2 separate regions of the Homo sapiens genome follow, and region 2 is linked to region 1. The links are contacts of gene promoters, found by promoter capture Hi-C in blood cells and fetal thymus (Javierre and others, 2016). All regions are on one chromosome and are shown on one strand. Each heading gives the region's core, a stretch centred on a gene start or on the middle of the fragment in contact. The rest is flanking DNA. Distances are from core to core; before and after follow the strand shown. Region 1 holds the start of NUDT15 (nudix hydrolase 15). Region 2 holds the start of DHRS12 (dehydrogenase/reductase 12).

Region 1 (4,989 bases), core at 800-3,299:
GCTAATATATAGAAATATAATCAATTGTGTATATTAACCTTGAATCCTACGACCTTGCTAAACTTATTTCTTCTAATGGCTTTTTAATTAATTCCTCAGGATTGTTTTAAAAAAAAAAGACGGTTACTTATTCCTTTCCAATTTAACTACGTTTTATTGATTTTTAAATTTTATGAGTTGTGCTAACTAGAATCTCCAGCAACATGATGACTAAACGTGCTCAGAGTGGATACCCTAGCTCCTCCCAAATCTTGTCTTTCACCAAGATAAGGCTAGGCTAGTGCTATGGCTGCCATAACAAAGTATCAAGCCATAACAAAGTATCAAAGATTGTGTGGCTTAAATAACATAAATTAATTTTCTCACAATACTGGAGGCTAGAATTCTAAGATCAAGGTGTCAGCAGACTTGGTTTCTTCTGAGGCTGCTCTCCTTGGCTTGTAGACGGCTGCCTTCTCCCTGTGTCATCATACAGTCTTCCAATAGAACACAGTCTGGGTTCTAATCTCTACTTCTTGCGAGGACACCAGTCATAACATTAGAATAGGGCCTACCCTAGTGGCTTCATTTTAACTTGATCCTGTCTCCAAATGCTGAGGTACTGGGGGATAGGACTTCGACATAGGAATTTTGAGGGGACACAATTCAGCTCAAAACAGTCATTAAATATGATGTTAGCTGTAGGTCTTTGTAGATGCCATATATCATGTTAAAGTTTCATTTTATTTCTAGTTTGCTCAGAGATTTTGTGGAGTTTTTTTAATCACAACTGAGTATCGGATTTTATTAATTTTTTTCTGCATCTATTGAGATGATTATATGTATTTCCTTTCTCCCTCTGTTAATATGCTGAATTACATTGGCTTTTCAAATATTAAGCCAACCTAGTATTTCTGGGATTAATCTCATTGTTCAATATATTATCCTTTTTATATACTACCATTTTTTGAGAAGATATTGTAAGTACCTTTGTAATGAATGTGAATGTTGATAGTGAGGAGAGATGCTGTGAAAAGCTTAATACCCATTTAGTATAACATGGAGAGTAAGCATATTACTTAGAAATAAGTAGGCAAATATCAGAAATACAGTTCAAAGAGTTAAAAGTGATTGTTTCTGAAAGTAGGAGGGTCAGGTTGCTCTTGTTGCGGTTTTTGCACCATTTTACTTCTTAAAATTATAGCTATAGGTCAGGCGCAGTGGTTCACGCCTGTTATCCCAGCACTCTGGTAGGCCCAAGTGGAAGGACTGCTTGAGGACAGGAGTTGGAGATCAGCCTCGACAAAAGACCGACAGCCCACCTCCACAAAAAAAAAAAAAAGAAAGAAAATTAGCTAGCTTGGTGAAAATTAAAATAAAATAAAATTACCAGTATGTGCACATTACTTTGGTAGAAGTAAAAATAATGAGAAAGAGAGAAAACCCTCCCAGTAACTAGTCATTTGTTTTTATGATTCAGCTGGTTTGTATTTTGCATGGTGCATGGTGTGCAAACATCTGAAAATGTCTGTTTTCCACTGTTTGTAACTAACTCTTCCCAGCATGATTTATCAATTAGCCTTTATTTCCTCCCATGACTTATGAATATACCTTAAGCATAGTTGTTTATAATGGGATGTTTCTAAACGACCTATCCTTATCCTGGTACCACGCTGATTTGAGCTACAGGGCAAATGGGTGCACCATGGTGGGCGAGGTCATTCACGGAAAAAAGAATGTGCAGTGGTGCCGAGGTTGGTAAGAGCAGGCGGCTTGTACATGTAAATGCATGGTTTGCAGGAATCTGGGAGTGGATAGGCTGACGGGTGATGAATATTCAAAGCACAACTGTAAGCGACTTTAGTTACAGCGAAACTCTAAGGCACGCTGCCCTTCGGAAGGAAACACGGCATTCCCCAACCTGATAGCCCTCCGCGACGCATTACGCACCGCGGACAGCTGGAGAGGCCGAGGCGCTCTCGCTTTGATTTCGGCGCCTCCGCCCTCGCGGGGAGAGATTGGCTGCGGCCGCGGGACGGGGTAGTGAGCGCGTCACTTCCTGCCGCTGCCAGGCGCGTCCTCCCGCGCGCTATGACGGCCAGCGCACAGCCGCGCGGGCGGCGGCCAGGAGTCGGAGTCGGAGTCGTGGTGACCAGCTGCAAGCATCCGCGTTGCGTCCTCCTGGGGAAGAGGAAAGGCTCGGTTGGAGCTGGCAGTTTCCAACTCCCTGGAGGTCATCTGGAGTTCGGGTGAGCAGCCGCGGACGCGAGGAAACCGGGGCGTGCGCAGAGGGACGAACTCACGCCGTGCTTGCTTCCGTGTGCCGTGCGTGAGAACGTCCGCGCTGACGCTGCGTCCTTTCTTGCGCGTTCCCTCGGTTCCTCCCCTCGACTTCTGGGCGACGTAGGATCGCGCCCAGGAGGGGGCGCTGTGCTGGGTCAGGCGAGGTCTTTGCTAGCTGGGTCTTTCCGGCTGCGCCCCTGCTGGGTGGTGGTTGGGAGTTCGTCTGTGAGGTGTGTTTCTCACAGCTTACACACAAAAGGAGGAAAGCAGGTGTGTGTAAACCTCCAGCAGCCCGATATTGTCAGCTAAGACATTGCACCGTTTCCATGTGATTGATTGATTGATCGATTGATTGATTTGAGACTGTGTCTCGCTCTGTAGCCCAGGCCAGAGTGCAGTGGTGCTATCTCCAGTCACTGCAACCTCCGCCTCCTGGGTTCAAGCGATTTTTGTGTCTCAGCCTCCTGGTAGCTGGGATTACAGGCGCCCGCTACCACGCCGTGCTAATTTTTGTATTTTTAGTAGAGACGGGGTTTCGCCATGTTGGCCAGGCTGGTCTCGAACTCCTGACCTCAGGTGATCCACCCGTGAGGTCAATGACCATAGCCAACATTGAGCTCTAATGGGCTTTTTGTTAAAGGCTGGATAATATGCCAAGCTCTTTGCATGTATACTTTCATTTGATCTTTACATAACTGGCATACTCAGTGGGCTAAATTTGATGGGAGAACAAACAGGAAATGGTTTTATTTTCTCCTTCCACTGCCTTCAAACATGATTTTTTCTTTCCCTCTTCAGTGACGTTTCCTGCAAATTCTATAGTTTTCTTGTCACTTGGTTATAAAAATAAATCACATTTGGGTCAGTATGATTCACTTCCAAGCATTTAAAAGTCCAATCCAATTTAAACCTTCAGTGTCACTTCCAGTTTCTAATCCCTCCCCTGCAGTGCATAAAGGAGGTGTGAGCCATTGTTCTGCTTTTCTGTATCCTCCTCCTCTTCTCACCTGGCTGTCTCTGAGTTTCCTTCTTTCTCCAGTGTGTTGGAGGAGGAGAGAGAGCAAGCCATTCAGGTGACTGATGCTGCTCTGATCCATCCATTGGTGTCCTCTGGGCATGATATCCACATGTGTGCTTTCTCAGGGTATGTTTGTCAGTTGTTGGGAAGTCCCACAGAGATTTTCCTGACATAGGTGACGGGCTTTCTGTGATGCTGGCCCACCTCCTAGCTCTTGCTTTTAGCACATCACCCCACATTTTCTTTCTACTGGGATCTCCTATTTGATTACCCAGCAGTCTCTTGTGGCATCTGCTTGGCCCAAAGGAAACACACAATGGGAATGATATTTCCACTGCTGCCCTTTTTCCTTGCTCTACCTCTGTATTCATCTGCATCTGGAAACTCCGAGGGACACATTTCAGATTTACCCAAGAGCTTTCACCCTTGTAGCACACCTTTTCTGATGCACTGGGGTAGGCCTGTGAGTTTCTGCAGCTCAGGATGTCTTTAGCAGGGGAGTGACACACTGAGTATCTCCTTCTTGAGTCACTCCCAATCTTGTGACTGATTCTCTTGGAATGTTCCTCACCTGTCTTGGGGGGGCAGAGTTGGCCCCTTGTAGTCTGGAAGGGAAATGCTCCTACTAGGCTGAAAACTCCAAACTTTCCTCTGTCTCAAACATCTCCTTTTTTTTTTTTTTTTTTTTTTTTTGAGACGGAGTCTCGCTCTGTCACCCAGGCTGGAGTGCAGTGGCGGGATCTCGGCTCACTGCAAGCTCCGCCTCCCGGGTTCACGCCATTCTCCTGCCTCAGCCTCCCAAGTAGCTGGGACTACAGGCGCCCGCCACTACGCCCGGCTAATTTTTTGTATTTTTAGTAGAGACGGGGTTTCACCGTTTTAGCCGGGATGGTCTCGATCTCCTGACCTCGTGATCCGCCCGCCTCGGCCTCCCAAAGTGCTGGGATTACAGGCGTGAGCCACCGCGCCCGGCCTCCTGTCTTTCTTATGTAGCCTGGATACGGAGAAGTCACAGGTCTAGTCTGGCCTTCCTTAGCTTGAGCTTGAGCTCAGATGACATCTGTTTGCCCTTTTGCTTGAGAATTTAGAAGTGCTTTTTACCTATTGTCTTCAGTTTTGAGGCTTAAATTGAAATTCTGAGACTGCTGGAAAAGACATAGTGGCACTTCTTGATACAATTACAGTGACCCCATGAGGAAGTAATATAATCTCTTTTTACTTGTCCAAGGTGGAAAGTAATGAACTTTGAGCTCAATCCCAGGTCTAGTTGACTCCAAAGTCTGCTCTTAATGCACTAAACTGCCTCCTTGTTACACACAGGTTCCAGGGCTGTAAATTAGTGCTGAGATGGCTAAATGTTAATTTTTATTCAATATTAAGTCCTTTTCATCTTTAGATAACTAGATACAGGATATAATGTCAAGGGCAAGGTTGCTGATTTACTGGTTTTAAATCTTTATCTTTTTAATTAATTATTATTACTATTTTTTGAGACAAAGTCTTGCTGTTTGTCCAGGCTGGAGTGCAATGGCACCATCATGGCTCACTGCAGCCTTGACTTCCCAGGCTCAAACTATCCTCTTGCCTCAGCCTCTTGAGTAGCTGGGACCACAGACCATAGGCACGCACCACCATGCCCGGCTATTTTTTTTTTTTTTGAGAGATGAGGTCTCACTATGTTGGCCTCAGCTGGTCTCCAACTCCTGAAC
Region 2 (4,989 bases), core at 1,840-4,339, 3.8 Mb after region 1:
CATCTGCAGAAAGGGAATAATAAGAGATACCTCTTGGGCAGCCTAAATGAGATGCCGCATCTAAGGCACTTATGACAGCACTTGGAACATATTAGGAGCTCAATAATTAGCAGCTGACATTATTATTTTTTGAGACAGAGTCCCACCCTGTCGCCCAGGATGGAGTGCAGTGGCGCGATCTCGGCTCACTGCAACCTCCGCCTCCCGGGTTCAAGTGATTCTCCTGTCTCAGCCTCCTGAGTAGCTGGGGTTATAAGCGCCCGTCACCACACCCGGCTAATTTTTGTATTTTTTAGTAGAGATGGGTTTTCACCATGTTGGCCATGCTGGTCTCGAACACCTGACCTCAGGTGATCCACCCACCTTGGCTTCCCAAAATGCTGGGATTACAGGCATAAGCCACCGCACCCAGGTGACATTATTATTATCACTATTAATAATGACAGTACCGTCCATGTTCACACTTGAGCTCATTTGGCCCCCAAGCCTTCAAATCAGTAGGGACTTTGAGAGCATTTTAAACTACAAAGAGGAAACTGGAAGATTTTTTTCCCCCTAAACACAGACGTGAGCCCTGGAATCTCTGTGAAAGGCTTTTCCGGTAGAGGCAAGGGCCTGAGTCAATGAATAGGGGCTTAGCTAGGAGGAGGCATTGTGGGGAATGAGTGAGAACTTCCCAAATACAATAGAGCCAGAAAAAAAGCAGTCCACAGGGAACAGGCCTGAAGAGCCCTTCTCCAGGGGCAGGAAGCTGACAGGCTTTTCTCTGTGATACCCAGTCAGAGGGGACATTAGCCTCTGGGCTCCACACTGATCCGTATTAGAGACGAATGTTTGCTGAGGCTGGCTCCTCTGGGTTGAACCTCTTCCTCAAACTCCAGACTGGGAGTGCTGCCAAGCGGGCAGTACCAGCCTGGCCTGCAGGACATGTCCCCGCCCTCTGTCCTCTGCCTTGGATCTTGCCTTCCATACAAGAATTCCATCCTGGTCCGATCTGTTGTTAATAAGACTTGTCTTTTATGTACTCTGCCCCTTATTGGGGAAGCATTTTATTTTCACTCTAGAAATCAGTCTCTAGATATCAGTCTCTATTTTTCACACACACACACACACACACACACACACACACACACACACACACACACGACTTTCCCAAGGTCACCAGAAGGTAGGTGATCTTCTTCAACACCCAGCCTCGGTGCCAAAGGGCAGTCCCCAGACAAGCTGCATCAGCATCATCTGGAAACCTGTTGGAAATGCCCTGCCTACTGACTCAGAAGTGATTGCTTGGCAACCTGTGGTTTCATGTGCCTTGCCAGTGATTTTGACTCAAGCTGAGAGGACATTTGTACTTACTGTTTCCTGAAGCTGAGGTGACAGGGATGGGGAGGAGGAAGCTGGCAGGTATCTGTGTCTCCCCACACCCTCAATTTACCCAAATATGAAATTTGCTTAGGACCCATCCACACTTGCCCAGGGTTTAGGAGTCTGTTTAAAACTGCCCCAGGGAATTATTAGGTTCAGCAAAGTTTAGGAAACAGTGATTAGATCCTCCTGCCTTAGGAGCCCAATATAGGGAGGCTTTATAAAAATCCTTGTGCCAAGAGAAACGTTGTAAACTCTAACTCCGCGCTCTCACACTGAAGTCAAAACAAGGTTGTTGTTTTTCTCTCCTATTCACTAAATCCACAACAGCAGGAAAACCCATCTAACTTTGCCAACTGCCTTCCCCTCCCCTCCCTTCCCCCACCAATCTGTGGTGGATTGGGCCCCTTGGCCTCACTTCTACCTTCCCTCAAGGTGGGGAAATCAGAGCGAAAGAGTCCTGGGAGAAATTTTTACAGTCTGCTTTCCTTGGGGCCCACCCCTGGTTGGAAACTGACTTAAGCTTTCATGCTGTGTAATGTGGAAAGATCCAGCAATTAATGGTCATTGCCAGAGGACACCCCTTTGAAAGAAAGAGGCTGCCACTGTATTCCCCTAAAAACTGTGGGACAGGGCTCACGACTACACTCCCCACCATTCTCTGCAGCAGGGGCTCCTGAGACAGAGCTGAACCTTCTCCAAAACGATGTGGGGTGAAGAGCAGGGAGTTGCAACTCCTACCTCCCCTAGGAGTGCTGGCCAGGTTGCCGTGGGAACTGATAAAGCCCCAGTGCAGGGAGAAGCCTCTCAGAGGTGAGAATCACCTGGGGCATTTGGATGAAATGCCAGTCCAGGCCCCTGTGCAGATCCACTAAATCAGAATCTGTAGGGATGGGGCCTGAAAACTGGGTACTTTTAATTCTCGCCCAGTGATTCTGATGTGCAGACAGGGTTGAGAACCAGCGGTTAGCCTAATCAATTCTAAGAGAAAACCTCCATCTCTCCTCCGTCACAGGAACCTGTCACCTCTTAAAACCACAATGAGGTGGAGAGCCAACTAGGGCACACTGAGCGTGGTCACGGGGCGACGAAACCACCACGCACCGTTCCCCAGAAGCACACACTGGCTGGAAAGTTCCAGCTGGAGCCAAAGGTCGCAGTCCAGGTGCTGCATCTTTTTAAAGGAAACACACCCAAAGGCACTAGGACAGAGCCTTAGCTAGCGATTTAGATCCAGCCCTATCTGACGCCGCCAGCAGCACCACGAAGACACTTCCACGAGCACACCCAGCGGGGCGCCGAGGTGCCGCCCAAGAGGCTCCTTGGCGCCGGGGCCGCCTGACGTCAGTGGGACGGCCCTGGGCTTGGGCGCGCCACAGCCCCGCCCCTCGGGCGCCAGTCTCGGTCGCGGGCATTGAGCGGCTGGAGTCTGGCGACTGCCCCACGCCCAGCCGTGGGTCGCTAGACGGCGGGCGCACCCGTCGTTCTGGACACGCTTAGTCGGCCCAGCGAGAGGGCGAAGGAGCCGCGGGCGCGTCCCCGCCAACCCTGCTCGCCCGCGCCGAGGCGGGCCACGTGACAGCCCGGGGCCCCGCGCCCCGCCGCGCCGCCTTACTTGGTGTACTCGCGCAGCCCCTTGGCGAACCACACGACGCTGCGGTACAGGGACATGCCGGGAGCGCCCCACGCCTAGCCCCACCGCGCTCCCGGCGCGGCCTCCGCCCTGGTCCCGCCCCCCGGGAGTCGCCCGCCCTGACATCATCCCGGTTATGTAAGAGCCGCGGCTTCCGGTTCCTTGCTCCACCGGTAAGGCAAGGGGTCTCGGGGCCGGCCGGTCGACTCCGCCCCAGCCTCAGAGGGTGGAGTGAGGGCGGACCGGCCCTGGTGGGGGCCGCAGTCGAGGTCCGCAGTCTCCTCGGGGTCGAAATCGGGCATCAGCGCCGTTTAGAGAACACCGTCCTGCTGGGCATGGCCGGGATGCGAAGATGGCCCTGCAACGCACCTCCTAGAATTTGGTTACCTAGAAAACCATGTGGAATAAAACGACGAGGCTTATGATATTTAAAAGACTTCTGCATCGAATTGGTGTTATCATAAGGGTTATTTTAATAACTGGCATTCTCTAAGTTTCTACACGTGTTGGGGGATGCAGTGCCGTGCCACATTTCCCGTCTCCAGCAAGCGCAGTCAGATTGGCGACATCGCAGGCAAGAGGCAGGGCTGGGGCTCCCACCCGAGAAGTAATTGTCTCCAAAGTTGGACTTTTGCCACTGGTTCTGCGACTTCATGCAATGCCAGGGAGAGCCCCTTGATTTCCCCCAAATCCTCATCAGCCTCTTTCCACCCAAGCCCAGATGAACAGTGTGAGTAAAAAAGAGTGTGGTTGCTGCGTGAACCCAGATCTCAGACTAGTCATCCAGCCCCATTATGTAGGACTCAGACACCCCTGTCCACATCTAACCTCCAGCCCTAACGCCACATTAGAAATGGGGGTCTTACTGCTGCTGTCACTCCTAGTCACCCTGTTAAATTCTATACCGGTTTACCCAAGTCGCCCAGAGACTGGGCCCCACTTACATAAGCTGAAGAGACCAGCTGCTTTAATAGCCTCATTACCTAGGATATAGGATCACTGTCCAACCTCACTCCACAGTGGGCAAGTTTTTACTTCAGAATAACTTTTGAAATAAATTTCCCCGGAACAGCTCGCCCCTCTCAACAGGACTCTGAGGCTCCACTACGTTGCTGTTATTCCTGACAGAGTGATGAAAGGAAATTTAAACAAGTGGCATTTTGTAAAACCACCCCAGCCTGTGTGACTTTCAATGCCTGTCCGATTTGGCTGGGAAAATATTTTAGATCCCCAGGGCTACATACTGTTTTTTATACCCTCCTCTTTGTGTCAGTGATGGAAAAGGTGTCAATCTGCTCTGAATCTCTCTGAACACCTCAGGAAATAGGCTTTTGGCTCGCAGAGAGGGGATGAGAAATAGTTTTGAACCACCAAGTCTCTTGGAGGGTGTCAGCAGCCCCTTGAAGTAAAAGTGTGGCTGCAAACCCAGCTCTCTGCATTAGCCAGGTGAACCTGAGCATGCTGCATACACCCTCAGTCTTGGTTTCTTAATATGTAAAATGGGAATGAATATGCGCACCTCGTGGGGTGGTTGTGATTAAAGGCATTCATTATAAAGAGCTTAGTTTCATACAAAGTGATCAGAAGTGTTGGTTTCCCTCCTTAAGTTTTCTTCTCATTCCTTTTTCCCCTGCGCTTACAGCCATGCAGTGTACATTCAAGAAATTTCCATGAGGGCATGAGGTGTCCAGTGTTAGCCTCAAATCAAGCATCCACGAGGTAGTTAGTGTATACATTATATACATTTAAAGAGGAGGTCTTAGGAAAAGCCAAACCCTGTCTCAAAATGAGCTTCCACTCTCACCTGGATGCCAAGTAACACACACACACAAACAAAGGGCAGTATGGAGTTCACAAGGGAATGTTCCCGTTTAACTGGAGTCAGCTGAGCTGGATTCTAGTCCAATTTCTGCCAGTTATTCCCTGTGTGACCCATGTGATAAAATGTATAGAAGGCTTAAAGTGTGCCAAGCATTGTGGATTATAGCACT

What was found. Contacts are between HindIII fragments. The CHiCAGO score rates a contact against its expected background, and 5 or more counts as called.
Region 2: the fragment with the promoter of DHRS12 here is called in contact with the fragment with the promoter of NUDT15 in region 1 in 5 of 17 cell types (naive CD8 T cells, fetal thymus, total B cells and 2 more); the score reaches 11.4 in naive CD8 T cells.

The regions. Positions count from the first base shown.
Region 1 is chr13:48,035,677-48,040,665 of GRCh38, forward strand. It overlaps NUDT15 (nudix hydrolase 15), which reads left to right and starts at 2,050. Exons shown (of 3, transcript NM_018283.4): 1 at 2,050-2,228. The coding sequence starts at 2,071. LOC124903172 (a long non-coding RNA gene) reads right to left here and starts at 2,316. Exons shown (of 2, transcript XR_007063788.1): 1 at 1,930-2,316. RefSeq lists enhancers at 1,178-2,054, 2,055-2,930, 2,097-2,336, 2,387-2,546. The HindIII fragment of the contact is 6,950 bases long and covers 1,015-4,989 here.
Region 2 is chr13:51,801,074-51,806,062 of GRCh38, forward strand. DHRS12 (dehydrogenase/reductase 12) reads right to left here and starts at 3,090. Exons shown (of 9, transcript NM_001377533.1): 1 at 2,981-3,090. LOC107984561 (a long non-coding RNA gene) reads left to right here and starts at 2,763. Exons shown (of 2, transcript XR_007063805.1): 1 at 2,763-3,728. RefSeq lists enhancers at 1,406-1,455, 3,841-3,970 and a silencer at 2,651-3,290. The HindIII fragment of the contact is 7,862 bases long and covers 1,887-4,989 here.